Linked DNA regions of Homo sapiens: region 1 is linked to region 2. Evidence: promoter capture Hi-C in 16 types of primary human blood cells and fetal thymus (Javierre and others, 2016). All regions are on one chromosome and are shown on one strand. The core of a region is centred on a gene start or on the middle of the fragment in contact, and the rest is flanking DNA. Distances in the headings are between cores, read along the strand shown. Region 1 has its middle 8.4 kb from the start of TREM1. Region 2 holds the start of TREM2 (triggering receptor expressed on myeloid cells 2).

What was found. The method cuts DNA at HindIII sites, captures the fragments that hold promoters and counts their contacts. A CHiCAGO score of 5 or more calls a contact.
Region 1: a contact is called between a fragment that was not itself captured here and the fragment with the promoter of TREM2 in region 2, in 3 of 17 cell types (M2 macrophages, neutrophils and M1 macrophages). The highest score is 6.0, in M2 macrophages.

Annotation. Positions count from the first base shown.
Region 1 is chr6:41,293,093-41,297,153 of GRCh38, forward strand. No RefSeq gene overlaps it. Among named protein-coding and RNA genes, the nearest start is that of TREM1, 8.4 kb to the left of the region's middle. The HindIII fragment of the contact is 3,363 bases long and covers 287-3,649 here.
Region 2 is chr6:41,161,616-41,165,619 of GRCh38, forward strand. TREM2 (triggering receptor expressed on myeloid cells 2) reads right to left here and starts at 1,501. Exons shown (of 5, transcript NM_018965.4): 1 at 1,428-1,501. The coding sequence starts at 1,467. The HindIII fragment of the contact is 7,981 bases long and covers 1,113-4,004 here.

The DNA of each region.
Region 1 (4,061 bases), core at 718-3,217, 130 kb after region 2:
GCAATATATAAAAAGGATTACACACCATGACCAAGTAGGATTTGTCCTACCTGGCATTCATTCAACATATGAAAATATTTCAGTTTAATACTCCATATTACATTGTAAAGGAGGAAAATGTCACAGTCATATCAACAGATGCAGAAAAAGCATTTGACAAAATTCAACTCTCTTTTATGATAAAATACTCAATAAACTAGGATAAGAAGGGAATTTCCTCTATGCAATAAAGGGCATCTATTAAAAAAGACCCTACAACTAACATATTTAATGACGAGAGACTGCAAGCTTTCTCTCTAAGATCAGGAATAAGACAAGAATGTCTTCTCAGCCAACTCTGTTCAACATTGTACTGGAGGTTCTAGCCAGGGCAATTAGGCAAGAAAATAAAAGGCATCCAGGTTAGAAACAAAGAAGTTAAATTTGTACGTAGGAAATTCTATGGAATTTTTAAGAAAACTATTAGAGCTAATTAACAAGTTCAGCAAAGTTACAGGATATAAGATCAATATATAAAAATCAGTTGTATTTCTACTTACTAGCAATAAACAATCTGAAAATGAAATGAAATTAAGAAAGCAATTTCCTTTATAATGGCATCCAAAGCAATGAATATTTAAGAACAAATTGAACAAAAGAATGCAAGATTTGCACACTAAAAACTACAAAACATTGTTATCTGGCAGAGTCTTTGCCTTTTTGTACCCACTCACCCAGCTTGGGTCCTATCTCCACTACTTTATGTTTTCTGCTCCAGGAGGCCCTAGGTGACTCTGCTGCAGCCTCTATCATCCTGTGACCTGCAGGATCTCAGTAAGACGGCTAACTAGATGCAGCCAGGAGGAACATCTGCCACCTAAGGATGGTGACATAGAGAAGACTGGTGCACTGAGGGAAGGCACTGAGAGTGGATGGAGGGAGGACACAGATGCTGGGCTGAAGGGGAGAGAAAGCTGGGAATCTTGCACGGGCCATCATACCTTGGGACTCATTCCTGGCCCCCAACAACTCTGGGGAACAGGTGAGTTGAGCAGGCAAGGCGTGACCCACTTTTGCCACAGACCTCTAGAATCCTGGCAGCAGGAGACCCCACAACCCCAAAGACACTTGAGCTGGCAGGGGGAGCTGCTTAGAGAGGTAGTAAGGGCAGGACTCCAGCCTGTGTAGAGCCCAGAGGGTTTAGTGTGGGAATGTCTGTGGTGGAGCACAGCTGGGGATGCCCATACCACAAGGCTCACCATGATCTCCTAGGAGATTTTAGCCTTAGGGGAACTGTCCAATTTCAACAGAGCAGGATGGTCTTGCCAGTGAGACAAGCCAGTCTGATCTGAGTGCCCTCCTGTCTGCTGGCCTCTCCTGGGGCCCCAGCCTGCCCATGCCTGCTTTCAGTGCAGCCTTGGATACCAAACTGGCATGCCTCCTGGGGACCTGCATCATAGTTCCTTCACCAGCAGACTGCACCTGACCATCAGAGCACTCAAGCAGAGTGGCCCCTGCTGATGAATATCAGCCCACCACACCCTCCCTCTGTGGCAGCCTTCCCCATGCCACTTTACCAGCACACATTTGCTCACAGCCAACCCCCCACCGCTTTCCCAGCACATGTGTGTGTGGGCGGATCTCACCTCCCCTCCCCCGCTGCTGCATGTGTGCATGTGAACCTCACTGTGCTACTACTGCAGGCATGAGCCTACCCCTGCCCCAGCCATGCTGCCATTGCCAGTGTGAACACAGGCACACAGGCCCCACCTCCCACCCCACACTGCCACCACCACTAGCACAAACACACACACGTAGTGGCCCTCAGCCTCACAGCCACCAGGACCCTACCCCAGCCAACAAGCGTGCACCCTGCTATGCTGCTGCTGCTGCTGCTGCTGCTGCTGCTGACACACACAAACACACATGGATCCTGCTGCCATCACCCTGACAAAGTGCTTTGGCTGGTACCACCCATCAGAGTGTCATGACCAGAGGCCCCAGAATACCTCTGTCCCTCTAGCATGGCTGGTTCCTAACCTCAAGGGGCCAGAGAACAAAGCTGGGGGCCTCATTCCAGCGCCCCCAGAGTTAGAGCCTGCAGCTTAGGAGTGCTGAGTTGAGCCTTGGCCCCCTAACATCTTCCAGAAACAAAGCCAGTCAACAGGACCCATCTTATACCACAATCAAACCCCCAAGGCCATCAATGAAGATAAAAGCAAATAAACCCGTCCAAAGGACAGCAGCTTCAAAGATTGAAGAAACATCAGCCCACACATATGAGAAGGAATCAGCACAAGAACTCTGGCCACTCAAAAAGTCAGAGGTCTTTTTACCTCCAAATGACAACACTAGTTACCCAGCAATGGTTCTTAACCAAGTGAAATGGTTGAATGACAAAAACAGAATTTAGAATGTGTATAGGAACAAAGATCATTGAGATTCAGGAGAAAGCCAAAACCCAATCCAAGGATTCTAGGGAATACAATAAAACAATATAGGAGCTGAAAGACAAAATGGCCGTTTTCAGAAAGAACCATACTGATTTGATAGAGCCAAAAAACTCACTTCAAGAATTTTATAATACAATCAGAAGTATTAACAGCAGAATTGATGAAGCTGAAGAAAGAATCTCAGAGCTCAAAGACTGGTTATCCAAAATAACTCAGACAAAAATAAAGAAAAAAACTAAAGAAGAATGAACAAAACCCCTAAGAAATATGAGATTATGTAAAGAGACAAAATCTATGACTCACTAGAATCCCTGAAAGAGAAGGAGAGAAAGCAAGCAACTTGGAAACATATTTCAAGCTATCATCCATGAAAATTTCCCCAACCTCACTAGAGAGGACCACATTCAGGAAATTCAGAGACCCCTGCAAGATACTAGATAAGATGGCCATCACCAAGAAACATAGTCATCAGATTCTCTAAGGTTGAAATGAAAGAAAAAAGTATTAAAGGCAGCTAGAGAGAAGGGGCAGGTCACCTACAAAGAGAACCAGCTAGCAGCAGACTTTCAGCAGAAATCCTACAAGCCAGAAGAGACTGGGGGCCTATATTTAGCTTTCTTTTTTGTTTTGTTTTGTTTTGTTTGTTTTTAATCTCAATAGCTTAGGGGTACAAGTGGTTTTTGGCTACATGATGAATGAATGAATTGTACAGTGGATGAATTGTATAGCGGTGAAGCCTGGGCTTTTAGTGTATTCATCACCTAAATAGTGTGTATTGTACCAGTAGGTAATTGTTCATCCTGAACCCCTTTTCCACTCTTTTCCATTCTGAGTCCACAACGTTCATTATACCATTCTGTATGCCTTTGTGTACCCATAGCTTAGCTCCCACTTACAAATGAGAACATTCTGTATTTGGTTTTCTGTTCAAGTTTTTACTTCACTTAGGATAATAGACTCTAGTTCCTTCAAAGTTACTGCAAAAGACAGTATTTCATTCTTTTTCATGAATGCATAGTATTCTGTGGTGTGTGGATGGATAGATAGATAGATAGATAGATAGATAGATAGATAGATACCATATATTTGTATCCACTTATCAGTTAGTTGGCAGTTAGGATGATTCCATATAATTGCAATTGTGAATTATGCTGCATACATTTAGCATTCTTAAAGAAAAGAGATGCCAACCAAGAGTTTCATATCCAGCCGAACTAAGCTTCATAAGTGAAGGAGAAATAAGATCCATGTCAGACAAACAATTGCTAAGGCAATTCATTACTACTAGACTTGTCTTACAAGAGGTCCTGAAGGAAGTATTAAATTTGTTAAAGAAAGACCATTACCAGCTGATATAATCTGGATATTTGTCCCCACCCAAATGTCATGTTGAAATGTAATCTCCAATCTTGGTGGTAGGGCCTGGAGGGAGGTGTTTGGATCAAGTGGGTGGATCCCAAATGAATGGCTTGGGCCATGACTTGGTGACAAGTGAGCTCTCACTCTGAGTTCACACAAGATCTGGTCATTTAAAAGTGTGTAGCACCTCCCCCAGTATCAGGGGAACCAGCCCCCAATATTTCAACGTAGATTCATTTCTATTTTCCCTAAGTGTTGGCCAGTCTGAGA
Region 2 (4,004 bases), core at 251-2,750:
GGGGAGGAGACATTCATTCACTCCTTTGTTTACCAAATACGCTTTGAACACTTGCTCTGTGCAGTGACCTAAACAGACAAAAATCCTGCCCTGAAGGAGCTTAGGTTCTTATACAAGTTGGGAGCGGATGGCACAGCATGTGTTTGTGGGAAATTGGGAACCAGGAAACCTGGGACCTGGGTTTGGTTTTCTCACTGTTGCTCTTGCTGGGCCTCCTTGGAGAAGTAACTGACCTTCTCTGGGTCTATTCTGGAGGCACTTGGTCTTAAAACCCCCTCCAGTTCTGTTCTGCACATCTCTTTGCCATCATTTGGGACTGGGACCTCTCCTCTCGGCCTGGGGCTGGCTCTCCCTGCCCCGCCACTCTTGCTTGCTCTGCAGCCGCCCACATTGGTACCGACTTTCCTGACCTTTAACTTCCAGCTTCCCTATTTCTGTGGCTTTGTTCCCCTTTCAGGAAGGACCCGTCTCGGAGATATTTTGGGGGAGACATGAGGCTGCTATTTTGGGAACCCTCCTTAGGGCGGGGGAGATGGGCTTAGAGCACCAGCCTGTTGCTGGGGCAGCCCCCAGAGCCCCCTGCTTTGACTTCTCTCTTGGTCCTCCCTTGCCTGCCATCTTCAACCATTACTGTGACAGAGGCTTGAAAGATAGGATTGGGAAGTTGGTGGCTTGCCTTTTGGAACTAGAGAGACCAGATGGGCCGTGGCCCTCTCCCATCTGACCACCTCCCATCCATGCCTCAGAACCCCGCCTTCCCCCTGACCACCATCTAAGAAGCTGCAGGAACAAGACTCCATTTGGCACCGTCTCTCCTCTTGCCCAGGTTTGTCCAGTGCTCTGGGGGAGCAAAAGGTGCGCTTTCCTCAGCGGGAAGAAGCAATTGTGTACAAAAATTTGGTGTGTCAATTCCCCTCAACTCAGCAACGGAAATCTCTACGCTCCTCACCTCCCATCAAGAGCTGAGGACAAGGGGACCTTCAGAGCAGGGGAGAGAGTGCCCCAAAGATGCAGATGAACATCCTCAGGTTCTTTCCTCCTTTATAACTGTAGGGGCTCATAATTAGTGGCTTATAATTTCAGAGGCTATTACCAGTGCCAGTGCCCCCCAAAGCTTCCCCCAACTGCCAGCTAGTGCCTGGGATGCCACTGTTAGCACTCCTTCCCTTCCAATGCAACCAGAGTCCACCAGCCCCTTACATGTCCACATGCAGAAAGAGTCTGAGGGTAGGTTTTGATACTGGGGAGGGAAGGAGGGTGTGAAGAATATGGGCAGGGTGGGGAGGAGAGGAGTGCAGAACAGGGCACTCAGGCATGCGAGGACTGCCACCGCCTTCATAATTCACCCCAGGGCCCACCACCCGCGCCCCAACCACATGCTCAAAGTGAGGGAGAGAAGGCATCACAGGGCACGGAGGGGATCCTACCTGTGACAAAGAGTAAGATGAGCAGCCGGAGAGGCTCCATGCCACCCTTCCCCAGCCAAGGGCAGAAGCAGAGTGCCTTGTGCAAGATCTCGTCTTTCCCTTGAACTGCAGAAAAGAGAGGATCAGGCATGTCAGGCGCTGCCCACAGGAACTGGGCTCCTGGGGATTAAGCAATAGTCAGGACTGGGGTCTGGAGGCGGTGCAGGGTGGGGACAGAGGGGAGGAGGAGTCGGCCACTGCAGCCCTGGCAGAAGGAGGCTGAGTCTCCCAGACCTCTGAGAAGCCAGCCCACCCTCCTGCTGGTGCCAGCCAGGGTGGCCCCCAGATGGTTGGGGCTGGTAAGGCCCTGCACTGCTCAGTTTCCTTGCAGAGCCTAGCCCAGGGATCACTATCCTCACAGCTGTATTCAGACCCTCCACCAGCTGCAATGCCCGCCATCTTCTGGTTTCAGCCTTGCAAGAGTTGGAGAACAGCTGTGCCTTTAGAGGCCAGGACCCTCATCCAGCACCTCTTAGTTCATCCCCCCAGGGCTGTCATTCCTGTAGTGTGGCAGCAGTTAAGTACACAGCTCTGGAGCCAGACTTCCTGACTTTCTGGGTGTGTAACCACACATCCAAAACCTACCTGTGTCTGTTCCCTGATCTATACAGTGGGAATAATGATAGTGCAAAGGGTTATCAGGAGCACCATATGGGTTCCTACAGGTAAAGTGCTTTCCAGTAGGGCCTGACACACAGCATTCAACAAATACTAACTATTACCATTATCCTAGTTAGAAGGGAAAAGGGAAATGGGCTGTCCATAAGACAGAAAATTTTCTCTCCCACCTGGAATTTTCTGCCCAAGTTTAGCCTTCTTGGAACTGTTGGGTGTCTCCTGTGCACACATGCTCACACTGGTGTTTATTTTGTGCACACACATGCTTGAACTCCTGATCATCCTATCCTACAGGACAGGACAGGATATTTCTCAGAGTTCTGGGGGTAGGGGTGTGTTTTTCTACACGTACAGGTTCCCATGGTGATCCAAGCACAGGGACCCACGTGTGCAAAGGCACAAAAGTGTGAAATGGCCCAGTGAGTCGGGGATTGGATGGAGGAGGCTTGAGTCAATTCTAGGAGTGGGAAATGGAGTTGTGCTGGGAGTGGCAGAAGAGGCTGGAGAAGCCTGCAGGAGCCTGTAGATTATCAGGGTCTACTTTAGTTTCCTGCAAACACTCACTTATTTGTTCTTTTATTCATTTATTTACTCATATTTACTGTGCATCTAACTTACGGACAGGGAATGTGCTTGGAGATGGGGAATTCATAGTGAGGAGAAGACAGGCCTCCACTCAAAGGGCCAACTGCCCGGCCTTGCCCCAAGGGCCTGGGGGCTGAAGTCTGAGGCTGCCTGAAGATCACTCTGTAGGTACTCTTCTAGGGTCTTTTTCTAGAAGTCAGGTTTATTGGCCCATAATTTACATATACAAAAATTTACCCCTTTTAAATGTCTAGTTGTGTAAATGTTGACAAACTCATGCATCTCTATAACAACCACCACAATCACCATGTCTGTGTAACACAATACCATAATATAGAAAGTTTCATTTAGCTTAAGCGAGAGCCTTTGTGCCCATTTTAGCCAGTCTCTTTCTCTCCAATCCAGGGCCTGGCAACTACTAAGCTGACATCTGTTTCTGTAGCTTCCTGCCCTTCCTAAAATGTCATAGACATGGAATTAAATAGTATGTAGCCTCTTGGGTCAGTCTTTATTCACTCATCAGAATAAATTCAGCATGCGTGAAGTTTCACTTCTCAAGAATGTATTCCTTTTTATTGCTAAACCATCTTTCATTCTATGGTTGAACCACAAGTAGCGTATTCATTCACCCGCTGATGGATATTTGGGTTGTTTCCAGTTTGGGACAATTATAAATGAAGCCACTATAAACATTCATGTACATATGTTTTGTGTGGACATATGTTTCTATTACCCTTGGATAAAATCCTAAGAATGGGACTGCTGGGTCACATGTAAGTGTATGTTTAAGTCTATAAAAGCTGCCAAAGTCTTTTCCAAAGAGGCTGTACCATTTTTACATCCTTGTCAACAGTTAATATTGTCAGGTTTTAAAAAGCCTTTCTAATAGGTTTAAGGTGATATCTCCTTCAATTTTAACTTGTATTTTTCTAGTGAGTAACGATATTGGACATCTTTTTGTTGTTTATTGCCATCTGTACCTTCTTCAGCAAAGTATTAGTTCAAAACTTTTGTCCTGTCCATTTTTAATTGTTTATTATTATCATTATTATTGAGCTGTGAAAATTCTTTTTATTCTGGATAGCAGTCCTTTATCAGATATGTGATTTGCAAATATTTTCTTCTAGTCTGTAACTTTTTTTCTCATTTCCTTAGCAGCATTAGCAGCATCTTTTTTTTTTTTTTTTTTTTTTTTTTTTGAGACAGAGTTTTGCTCTTGTCACACAGGCTGGAGTGCAATGGTGAGATCTCAGCTCACTGCAACCTCCGCCTCCCAGGTTCAAGCGATTCTCCTGCCTCAGCCTCCTGAGTAGCTGGGATTACAGGCACCTGCCA